Regions from separate parts of the Homo sapiens genome. Here regions 2 and 3 are each linked to region 1. Evidence: promoter capture Hi-C in 16 types of primary human blood cells and fetal thymus (Javierre and others, 2016). All regions are on one chromosome and are shown on one strand. Each heading gives the region's core, a stretch centred on a gene start or on the middle of the fragment in contact. The rest is flanking DNA. Distances are from core to core; before and after follow the strand shown.

Region 1 (3,886 bases), core at 553-3,052:
TCCGAAAAATCTCGGCCATGGTTTGAGCATGGTTCCTCAGCAGACACCTATCTTATGTCTTCATAGTAATGAAAGCCATTCTGGTTTCGTATCTGGGCATGATTCGGTAAGGCATGATAAGCCTGGTTCCGAAGTTCTGTACCTGTCCCAGCTGGGTCAGGTCTATTTTTGTGGTAGAATCACCTACAGTTAAGAGAATCCTTGGCTTGGAGGTTTTCTTCTTTTTTTTTTGAGACAGGGTCTTGCACTGTCGCCCAGGCTGGGGTGCAATGGCGTGATCTTGGCTCACTGCAACCCCCGCCTACCGGGTTCAAGTGATTCTCCTGCCTCAGCCTCCTGAGTAGCTGGGACTACAGGCGCGCACCACCACGACCGGTTAATTTTTGTATTTTTAGTATAGACGGGTTTCACCATGTTGGCCAGGCTGGTCTCGATCTCTTGACCTCGTGATCTGCCCGCCTCGGCCTCCCAAAGTGCTGGGATTACAGGCGTGAGCCACCACGCCCGGCCGGCTTGAAGGTTTTCAAGGGCTAGAGAGGAGCCCTGCCCTGGCTCCTTAGGTACAGCCAGAATCGGCCTTTAAGGTATGGGATATCTGACTCCTGCAGGACTGGAACTCCACGTGCTTGGAGGGATAAGCATTTATGATGTAACCACTAAGTAGTCAGAGGGCAGGAGGAGTAACGCTGTTGCTGGGCAACCTGGCTTAGCTTCGTGGCTTTGGTTAAGGTGCTACTCTATGCAAAATTCCTTGCCGTCTTCCCTAATCCGCCTCCCCAATTCTCCCTTCCTGAACATTAGGGAACCCACTGGCCTGCTTACAACTGAAGCAGTTTCTGTGTTAGGGCAGAGAGTAGTGATCAAGACATTAGGGTTTAGTGTTAGATAAACCAGGCTCCACTCTGCGGCCCCACGCAACCTCCCCACGCTCTCTGCACCAGTGTTGGCATCTGTCAAGTGGGTGGGGGCTAACAGTGAATAACTGCCTCATAGATGGACTACCGGCTTAACCAGAGACTGACAGCGGGTCGCATATTAATCTTCCAATCACTTGGCAAACTCGTTTCACTATGCATCTCTCCTCCTGGCTGTTCTTTCAACTTCCTCCTCCCTGAAATTTCGAAGATCCACCTCGGTGGGAAAGTCATTCCGCGTGGCGCGCCCTTTCCCTGCGTCCCTCCTTCCCAGGGCCCACCCTCCGCGGACGCAGAGCGTCTGCCGGGGGGACGGCAGGTCCGCGATGGCTGCCTCTGAGGCAGTCGGTCCCCTCTCGCCGTGGGCTTGGGAAGCGTCCGAAAGGCCCGCTCGGATCGTCTGCGGTGCTGCCCGCAGGGAAAGCGCCGCTGCCAGCCGGGCTGTCACGGGTGCGAGTGGAAGAAGCACACCGCAGGATGAGCGACGCCGCTGCAGAGGTAACCGCGGGGACTGCGGCCAGAGACGGGGGATGGGCGCAGCCGAGGATAACGGGATGGCCGGCATCCGGAACGCGTCAGGCCCGCTCCGCCGGACCGCCTTATCCTCCAGCCCGCGTCCCCAGCCGTCCTCCCAGATCCCGACCGCAGCTCCAGAAGTGACGGCCACGTGGGTGGCGGCGCGCGCCGCGGGGATTGGAATGTTGGCGTGGGGGGACGAGGTTGGAAGGGCCGCAGAGAAGTAAAGGAGGACCCGCGTCCGCGTGCCCGGGCGCCGACTGCTGGGCGACGCCGCCGGGAGCGAGCACGCCTCTGACGTCACGCGCTGCTCGTCCAATGAGTGGAGGCCTGAGGGAGGCGCCGGTCCCGGCCCCGCTGCCGCCGCCGCCACACCGGCCCTTCGGGAGCGTCTGAGGAGGCGCGGGCCGCTGCGGGCTCGGGCGCCGCAGCGCGCCGGCCCGAGCCCCTGGACGAGGCCCACGGAGCCGCTCGCCCCGACCCAGCCGCCCGATGTCCTCAAAATGGAGGCAGCGGGGGCGGCGGCGTGAAGAAAGCGGCGCTGTGGGCGCGGGAGTAGGGGCCCGGGCGGAGGCGGTGGCGGGATGGGGCTGCTGCTCATGATCCTGGCGTCGGCCGTGCTGGGTTCCTTCCTCACGCTCCTCGCCCAGTTCTTCCTGCTGTACCGCAGACAGCCCGAGCCGCCGGCGGACGAGGCCGCCCGCGCGGGCGAGGGCTTCCGCTACATCAAGCCAGTGCCGGGCCTGCTCCTAAGGGAGTACCTTTATGGCGGCGGCCGGGATGAGGAGCCCTCCGGAGCGGCCCCTGAGGGCGGCGCGACCCCCACCGCGGCCCCCGAGACCCCCGCCCCGCCGACGCGGGAGACTTGCTACTTCCTCAACGCCACCATCCTATTCCTGTTCCGGGAGTTGCGGGACACCGCGCTGACCCGCCGCTGGGTCACCAAGAAGATCAAGGTGGAGTTCGAGGAGCTGCTGCAGACCAAGACGGCCGGGCGCCTGCTGGAGGGGCTGAGCCTGCGGGACGTGTTCCTGGGCGAGACGGTGCCCTTCATCAAGACCATCCGGCTCGTGCGGCCAGTCGTGCCCTCGGCCACCGGGGAGCCCGATGGCCCTGAAGGGGAGGCGCTGCCCGCCGCCTGCCCCGAGGAGCTGGCCTTCGAGGCGGAGGTGGAGTACAACGGGGGCTTCCACCTGGCCATCGACGTGGACCTGGTCTTCGGCAAGTCCGCCTACTTGTTTGTCAAGCTGTCCCGCGTGGTGGGAAGGCTGCGCTTGGTCTTTACGCGCGTGCCCTTCACCCACTGGTTCTTCTCCTTCGTGGAAGACCCGCTGATCGACTTCGAGGTGCGCTCCCAGTTTGAAGGGCGGCCCATGCCCCAGCTCACCTCCATCATCGTCAACCAGCTCAAGAAGATCATCAAGCGCAAGCACACCCTACCGAATTACAAGATCAGGTGAGCTGGAGGTCGGGGAGGGGGCCTGGCTGCCGGGAACCCGGGCCTGGGCGGGACGCTGCGTGGATTGGGAAGGGCAAAGGCTCATTTCTGTCCTGGCGCCTGCTTCTGGGGCCTTCCCACCCTGGACAGGGCCCCAGATCAAGGCGAGTCGTGAACACTTGCTTTGCTTCCGAACGGCATTGATAGGAGCTAGAAACCTTTTCGCGTGTTCATGGGGACTCAGGGTGCTGTCAACGCGGGCAGAATCGTCTCCTTTTATAAGCAGCATATTGGAAATGGAAGGGAAGCCTACCCTAATCCCCAGGAGTCGCTTCTGGGACTGTTGAGAAACTCTCCCTCTATGTGGTTGCTGCATTGAGGGCAGCCGCGTCACTGGCTTTGCAGCATCCCCTTGGCCGCTTTGAGAAATTGTTCCTGGACACAGTACACGCGTGAAGAGTGTGCTTATAGCCCAGGTCTGTGCTAATTTGACATTGCAAGCCACTTTTGCTTTGATGGTTTGACACCTTTCAAGGCAGAGGTGGTAACTCTTGCAAAGGAATACTTTTGTGGGTTTTTTTTGTTTTTGTTTTTGAGACAGAGTCTTGCTGTGTCGCCCAGGCTGGAGTACAGTGGCGCGATCTCGGCTTACTGCAACCTCTGCCTCCCAGGTTCGAGCGATTCTCCTGCCTCAGCCTCCCAGGTAGCTGGGGTTACAGGCGTATGGCACCACGCCTTGCTGATTTTTTTTTTTTTTTTTTTTTTTTTTGTATTTTTTAGTAGAGACGGAGTTTCACCGTATTGGCCAGGCTGGTTTCGAACTCCTGACCTCAAGTAATCCGCCTGCCTCGGCCTCCCAAAGTGTTAGGATTACAGGAGTGAACCACCGCGCCCGGCCCGGGAATACTTTCCACAGCAGATGGGAAAGGAGTTGGGAGCCTGTACATAGTGTACTTTACATTTTGTATTAATGTCATTTGCCCATTTTGGGTAGATTGTAGAACACAGATCCAGACTC
Region 2 (3,886 bases), core at 613-3,112, 2.3 Mb before region 1:
CGGGGCGGCTGGCCGGGCGGGGGGCTGACCCCCCACCTCCCTCCCGGAAGGGGCGGCTGGCCGGGCGGGGGGCTGACCCCCCCCACCTCCCTCCCGGACGGGGTGGCTGCCGGGCGGAGACGCTCCTCACTTCCCAGATGGGGTGGCTGCCGGGCGGAGAGGCTCCTCACTTCTCAGACGGGGCAGCTGCCCGGTGGAGGGGCTCCTCACTTCTCAGATGGGGTGGTTGCCAGGCAGAGGGTCTCCTCACTTCTCAGACGGGGCGGCCGGGCAGAGACGCTCCTCACCTCCCAGACAGGGTCGCGGCTGGGCAGAGGCGCTCCTCACATCCCAGATGGGGCGGCGGGGCAGAGGCGCTCCCCACATCTCAGACGATGGGCGGCCGGGCAGAGACGCTCCTCACTTCCCAGATGTGATGGCGGCTGGGAAGAGGCGCTCCTCACTTCCTAGATGGGATGGCGGCCGGGCGGAGACGCCCCTCACTTTCCAGACTGGGCAGCCAGGCAGAGGGGCTCCTCACATCCCAGACGATGGGCGGCCAGGCAGAGACACTCCTCGCTTCCCAGACGGGGTGGCGGCCGGGCAGAGGCTGCAATCTCAGCACTTTGGGAGGCCAAGGCAGGCGGCTGGGAGGTGGAGGTTGTAGCGAGCCGAGATCATGCCACTGCACTCCAGCCTGGGCACCATTGAGCACTGAGTGAACGAGACTCCGTCTGCAATCCCGGCACCTCGGGAGGCCGAGGCTGGTGGATCACTCGCGGTTAGGGGCTGGAGACCGGCCCGGCCAACACAGCGAAACCCCGTCTCCACCAAAACCAGTCAGGCGTGGCGGCGCGTGCCTGCAATCGCAGGCACTCGGCAGGCTGAGGCAGGAGAATCAGGCAGGGAGGTTGCAGTGAGCCGAGATGGCAGCAGTACAGTCCAGCTTCGGCTCCACATGAGAGGGAGACCGTGGGGAGAGGGAGAGGGAGAGGGAGCGGTACTTTTTATTTTTGAGACACAGTCTCCTTCTCTTGCCCAGGCTCTGTTTTTTGTTTTTTGTTTTTTGTTTTTTTTTTGAGATGGAGTTTCACTCTTGTTACCCAAGCTGGAGTGCACTGGCGCGATCTCGGCTCACTGCAACCTCCACCTCCCAGGTTCAAGCGATTCTCCTGCCTCAGCCTCCCGAGTAACTGGAATTACAGGCATGTGCCACCACGCCCAGCTAATTTTTTGTATTTTTAGTAGAAATGGAGTTTCACCATGTTAGCCAAGCTGGTCTTGAACTCCTGACCTCATGATCCACCCGCCTCGGCCTCCCAAAGTGCCGGGATTGCAGGTCTGACAGGTGGCTTAACTTTAGGGTTAAGGGCCCAAAACACTCACAAGCTGTGATGGTGAATTTTATGTGTCAACATGACTAGGCTAAGAGCTACTCAGAAAGCTGGTAAAACACTATTCCTGGATATGTGTGTGTGAGGGTGTTTCCGGAAGAGATTAGCATTTGAATTGGTAGACTAAGTAAAGAAGACTGCCCTCATCTATATGGTGGTCATCCAATCCTTAAGGACAAGAATAGAACAAAAAGGTGGAAGAACAAATGTGTTCCCCATTGAACCCGGTTATTCATCCCTCCTGCCTGCAGATATCTGAGCAGATATAGTTCTGGGCTCTCAGACCCAGATTGACCTCCCTGGTTCTTAGGCCTTTAGGTTTGGACTGGAACTATACCACAGGCTTTCCTGGTTCTCCAGCTTGCAGAAGGTAGACTGGGACTTCTCAACCTCCATAATCTCATGAGCCAATCCCTCATCATAAATTTTCTTCTGTATATGCATATATATTGTTTCTGTTTCTCTGGAGAAACATGAGGGCAGAATGCAATTGACTGCTTTCCCAAAATTTGTATGTTGAAATCCTAACCTGTAAGGTGATAGTATTAGGAGAGAGGGCCTTTGGAAAGTAATTAGCTCATTAGAGCACTTATAAGAGACCCCAGCAAGGTCCCTTGCCCCTTCCACCACATGAGGGCATCTCGAGGAAACAGATGTTCGTCTAAGAACCAGAGAGCAGGCCCTCACCAGACACTGAATCTACCAGTGCCTTGATCTTGAACTTCCCAGCCTTCAGAACTGTTGGGAAAAAAAAAAAAAAATTCTGTTGTTTATAAGTCACCCAGCCTATAGTATTTTTTTGTTAGCCCAAACAGACTTAAAACACAAGCCAAATTTTTACGTTTGGCCAATCAACAGCCAATTTCTTATGGATTTATCACCCAGCAAACTTAATGCTACCTCCTCACATAACTTCATCAAGGATGGCTGGAAATTGTACTGTTGGAGCACTTTGACATATATAAAGTTCTTCAGGCTGGGCAAAGTGGCTCACACCTGTAATTCCAGCACTTTGGGAGGCCAAGGCAGGCGGATCACTTGATGCCAGAGTTCAAGGACCAGCCTGGCCAACATGGTGAAACCCTGTCTCTACTAAAAATACAAAAATTAGACATGCGTGGTGGTGGGCGCCTGTAATCCCAGCTACTCGGGAGGCTGAGGCAGGAGAATCACTTGAACCTGGGAGGCGGAGGTGGCAGTGAGCCGAGGTGGCGCCACTGTATTCCAGCCTGGGTGACATAGCGAGACTGTCTATAAAATAAAATAAAATAAAATAAGATAAAATAGTTGAGAAGCACCACAGACCAAGAAAAAGGAAAGTCCCTCATGAGGAGACTGTCATGTTGGCCTAAAAGAGGCCCTTTTATTTAATGTAGAAGACCACCCTTTTTTCACTTCTTTACTTTGGGGGTTAATAATTACTGGCTTTTTAATTGTACGGCCTGATAAAATTGTCAAGGACCTACTCAGGAGGCTGAGATGGGAGGATCACTTGAACCCAAGAGTTCAAGGCTACCATGAGCTATGATTGAGCCACTGCACTCTAGCCTGGGCAGGAGAGCGAGGAGTGAGACCCAGTCTCGAAAAAAAAAAAAAAAAAAAAAATGGGGTGGCCGGGCGTGGTGGCTCATGCCTGTAATCCCAGCACTTTGGGAGGCTGAGGCGGGCAGCTCACCTGAGGTCATGAGTTCAAGACCAGCCTGGCCAACATGGTGAAACCCCATCTCCACTAAAAATACCAAAAATTAGCAGTGCGTAGTGGCAGGTGCCTATAATCCCAGCTACTCAGGAGGCTGAGACAGGAGAATCGCTTGAACCCGGGAGGCGGAGGTTGCAGTGAGCCAAGATCGCACCATTGTACTCCAGCCTGGGCAACAAAAGCGAAACTCCGTCTCAAAAGAAAAAAAAGGAAAGAAAAGAAAATTTAGGCCAGGTGCGGTAGCTTACACCTGTAATCCCAGCACTTTGGGAGGCCGAGGTGGGTGGATCACCTGAGGTCAGAAGTTTGAGACCAGCCTGGCCAACATGGTAAAACCCCATCTCTACAAAAAAAATACAAAAATTAGCTGGGCATGGTGGTGGACGCCTGTAATCCCAGCTACTCGGGAGGCTGAGGCAGGAGAACCACTTGAACCCAGGAGACAGAGGTTGCAGTGAGCCAAGATGGCACCATTGCACTCCAGCCTGGGTGACAAAAGCGAAACACCATCTCAAAAAAAAAAAATTTTTTTTTATTAAACCAGCCATAATTATTTGTGTGTGTGTGTGCATGTGCGAGAGAGAGCGAGAATGTCTTTTCTGCAGCTAATTTTTCTCTTCTCTCCTTGCAGAGAAGATAATTAGCCTTGTTCAGTGATAATTTCATAGTTGTCTAAAACCAGCTGTCTCTCACTTCCTTTCTGTTATGCATTTACTCTTCAATTAAAAAACAAAACAAAAAAAAGGTAACTTTAAAAAATTAGTTTGCTCTAAATAAGCTACTTTGGAAAAAACGTCCAGGATACACTGTTAAA
Region 3 (3,886 bases), core at 640-3,139, 2.2 Mb before region 1:
TAGTTAGGTAATATTGGATGTGTGTTTCAATTTTAGAGCAGGTACACTAAGATTATTAGTACTCATTGCAATAAAATTCTTAACTGGAAAATCGCTACTAATTCTTAATTGGATCTTTTAAGTTTTTTACTTAACCTAAGCTTTCTCAGTCTATTTTTCCCTTTGAGTATTCCATCTTAAAGCATGTTGTGTATTTAATGTGGCAGCTATGTTGCAAGTCTTATTTTGGTCTTAATACTCAGTTTCCAGATGTAATATATTACAAGTAGAAAAAGAAATCTACTTTCCAGAATGAACTTTGTTAAATTTTACAGATATTGTTTGGTTTATGAGGTTGTTCATAACAGATGCAAATTTGAGGAATTATGTGTAGAATACCAGAAAGACTTTAGTGTTTGGCAATTTATTTAGATAAATTAAGATAAATCCATAGTACAAGACATAAACCAAGGTGGTCCTCTCTGTGTGATGAAGTAGCATTTTTTTCTTTTCTTTTTTAAACTTTCCTGTATTTAAAATCTTTTACACAAAACACATTCAATTGTAATTAGGAAAAAAAACCCAAATTTTTAAGTGTCCATAGTCAAAAGTATGCCTGGATTTGTCTTAGTTTTTCTCTGAATTTCTTAAGAAATCTTTGTATTAGCTTTTTTATCTACATTAAGATATATTTTGTTGGCTGGGCATGGTGGCTCACTCCTGTAATCCCAGCACTTTGGGAGACTCAGGCAGGTGGATCACTTGAGGTTAGGAGTTTGAGACCAGCCAGGCCAACATGGTGAAACCCCGTCTCTACTAAAAATACAAAAATTAGCCGGGCGTGGTGGTGCACGCCTGTAGTCCCAGCTACCTGGGAGGCTGAGGCAGGAGAATCGCTTGAACCTGGGAGGCGGAGGTTGCAGTGAGCTGAGATCATGCCACTGCACTCCAGCCTGGGTGACAGAGTGAGACTCCATCTCAAAAAAATACATATATATTTTGTTGATTCTGATGCATTTTAGACTAGGAAATTTTATATTTTACCCTGCTCTCCTAAAATGAAACAGTGAAGACATCATTGCAAACAACCTTACTCAGCCAAAAACAAAACAACAAAAACCCTCCACCCTCTGTATGTTTTACTATAACTTTAATTCTGTTCTTTGTTCATGTAATTGCTTTGGTTGGGAATCTAAGATAAACTCACTTTATGTTTAATATCCTATTACAATCAGATGTTTTAATGAATTAGTATTTGTTGTATGTGTGTGTGTGTTATAAATTATTTTTAATTAGAAATTGTAGTTATCTTGAGACCAGTTTAAAATTTTAACAATTAGAATAAGATGAGAAAATGATATCCAGGGTACAGAATAATAATGCCATTGGGGTATACAAGATCACATTGATTTGTTCTTTAAATGTCTTTCAGAGTGGTATTTTAGTGGCCTAAGAACAATTGTTGCTTTCCTAAATAAGGGTTAATCTTACTTTCATAGGATCAGGTTTAATTGGAGAAATTTTGTTGAAAACAGAGGAAGTTAAAATGAAATAAAAGGTGGCCGGGCGCAGTGGCTCACGCTTGTAATTCCAGCACTTTGGGAGGCCAAGGCGGACAGATCACCTGAGGTCAGGAGTTCAAGACCAGCCTGACCAATACGATGAAACCCTGTCTCTACTAAGAATACAAAAATTAGCCAGGCATGGTGGCATGCGCCTGTAATCCCAGCTACTTGGGAGGCTGAGACAGGAAAATCGTTTGAATCTGGGAGGCGGAAGTTGCAGTGAGCTGAGATCATGCCATTGCACTCCAGCCTGGGCAACAAGAGCAAAACTCCATCTAAAAAAAAAAGAAAGAAAGAAAGAAAGAAAGAAAAGGTGATGAATTAGATGATAACACATTAGAGCCAGAGCTAAAGGAAAAATTGCTGATAACGTATTTTTTTCTTGTGCAGATACGTAGGTAACCTTTCCAGAGATGTGACAGAAGTCCTTATACTTCAGTTGTTCAGTCAGATTGGACCCTGTAAAAGCTGTAAAATGATAACAGAGGTAAGATCTTCCCAGTTCCATGTGCTGACAATTAGCATGATGGGTTGATTAGCATGATTTTAAAATTTCATTGTAAGCCTCAAGTTATTCTGGTGGAGAGATTTGTGTTGTGTTGACTTATTACTTTGATTTGGCTGACAAACTAGGCTTAGAATGGAGTTTTATTTAAGAGGGCAAAGTTTCCGTGCTGTTAAGCTCAAACGGTCATTCTTCATGGTGTGGTTATCTTGAAGTGATTCTGCTTTCAGAACATTATTAGAGCTCATTTCAGAATGGTGAAAAATTGGAAAGTATTTCATACAATTCCAATAAGAATGTTAACGATTTAGACAGCATGTGTTCATGTGCGAGAACACGAAGTTATTATGTGTGTAGTGTGCAGCACCGTTCGTCTCGTGTGTCTGTAGCAAATACTTACCTTTTTATACTTTCCTGCTAAGACTGTAGCAGCACCCAATTAGTCATGTTTTAGGCTTTTCTTCCTTGTGTTTTTGTTCATTGATCAGCTTTCTTTTTTTTTTTTGGACTATTTCCTATGTACTAGATACTGCAGTAAGTGCTAGAGATACACTGGTGAATAAAGATAGTTCCTTGGCCCAGAGAATTTTACAGTTTAGTAGGGAGACAAAGGAGTTAGCAGGCACTTAGGAAGTAGGATAATAAATGCTCTAGAAGCAGACAACTTAAAGTGCTGTGGGAGCAAATGTGTATCCAGTGCAGCCTTAGGTCAGTGAGCGGCTTCTTGGAGGACTCACTGCCTAGGCGGAAACCTTGAAAGGATAGTAGTACATACTGGCTAGAAAGGAATTGAGGGAAGAAGGGATTCCAAATAAAGGGAACTTTGATCCAGGTTGGTAGGGAGAGCAGGAGTGCTTGAGACAGAGAGGGAAAAATAGAACCCGTAGCATGGTTGTAGTTAAAATGGAATTAGTCGTAAGAGATGGCAGGAGTTTATGGAAAGGGCTAGAAACTGTGCTAAAGAGTTTGTTTTATCCTGAAACGGAGAACTGTTAAAAACCTTTAAAGTGCATTGGCCTTTTGATTGTCTTTCCCAAGTAATGACAATCATCATTTTGTTCTGGTGTATTATATTTTTCCTTCCTGCCTTTAATTATTTATTTGTGCTTTCATCGATCAAAAATTTCCTTTGCACTAGGCACTATACAAGGTACTGGAGATATAATGGAGAGACAGCCAAATGAGTTTCCCAAGCAAATAGGGATGTAAGCCATGAAGAGAATAAAACAGAGTTCTGTGATGATTGGAGGGTTGGTGCTATATAGGCTAGGTGATGAGAGATGTCACCTCTTTGAGCTGAGATGAATAACAAGATGGTGCTATCTATGGTAAGAGCTGGAGGCAGAGGAAACAGCAAATACAAGTCTTGAGTTGGTAATGAACTTGTGTTTGTGGAATCAAAGACCGATGGCTAGAGTCTGGTGAGGGATGGAGGGGAGTTAAGGGAAATGAGTCTAACAGCAGGATTCAGAATCACAGGACATTATGGTCCATGACATAGTTTAGGTTTTACTCTGATTGCTGTGGCAGACCAGTGGAGGGGCTTAAGCAGGGGGATGAGGTGCCAAGATTTGCATATTTAAGCTTACTACTCTATGTAGAGAATGACTGTTTTATGGAGAATAGATTGTAGCGGGCAAGAGCAGAAGGAGAAAAACCATCTGGATTTACTTCACTAGTCTAGGTAAGAGATGATGGAGGCTTATTCTCGAAAGTGCTAGCCGAAGTCAAGATAAGGACAGAGGTTGATAGATTTGGAATATATTTTGGAGGTAGAATTGATAGGACTGGGTTGGCTGTGGGACATAGGGAAAGGAAGAAATCAGGAAATACCCTA

The links. Contacts are between HindIII fragments. The CHiCAGO score rates a contact against its expected background, and 5 or more counts as called.
Region 2: a contact is called between a fragment that was not itself captured here and the fragment with the promoter of PDZD8 in region 1, in 1 of 17 cell types (neutrophils). The highest score is 5.4, in neutrophils.
Region 3: a fragment that was not itself captured here is called in contact with the fragment with the promoter of PDZD8 in region 1 in 1 of 17 cell types (neutrophils); the score reaches 5.2 in neutrophils.

What each region holds. Positions count from the first base shown.
Region 1 is chr10:117,373,356-117,377,241 of GRCh38, reverse strand. It overlaps PDZD8 (PDZ domain containing 8), which reads left to right and starts at 1,802. Exons shown (of 5, transcript NM_173791.5): 1 at 1,802-2,886. The coding sequence starts at 2,015. RefSeq lists an enhancer at 1,362-1,481 and silencers at 1,712-2,031, 2,132-2,311. The HindIII fragment of the contact is 15,008 bases long and covers 1-3,886 here.
Region 2 is chr10:119,718,454-119,722,339 of GRCh38, reverse strand. No RefSeq gene overlaps it. Among named protein-coding and RNA genes, the nearest start is that of INPP5F, 5.7 kb to the left of the region's middle. RefSeq lists an enhancer at 94-982. The HindIII fragment of the contact is 8,129 bases long and covers 1-3,886 here.
Region 3 is chr10:119,586,297-119,590,182 of GRCh38, reverse strand. It overlaps TIAL1 (TIA1 cytotoxic granule associated RNA binding protein like 1), which reads left to right. Exons shown (of 12, transcript NM_003252.4): 2 at 1,935-2,031. Among named protein-coding and RNA genes, the nearest start is that of TIAL1, 8.7 kb to the left of the region's middle. The HindIII fragment of the contact is 3,493 bases long and covers 143-3,635 here.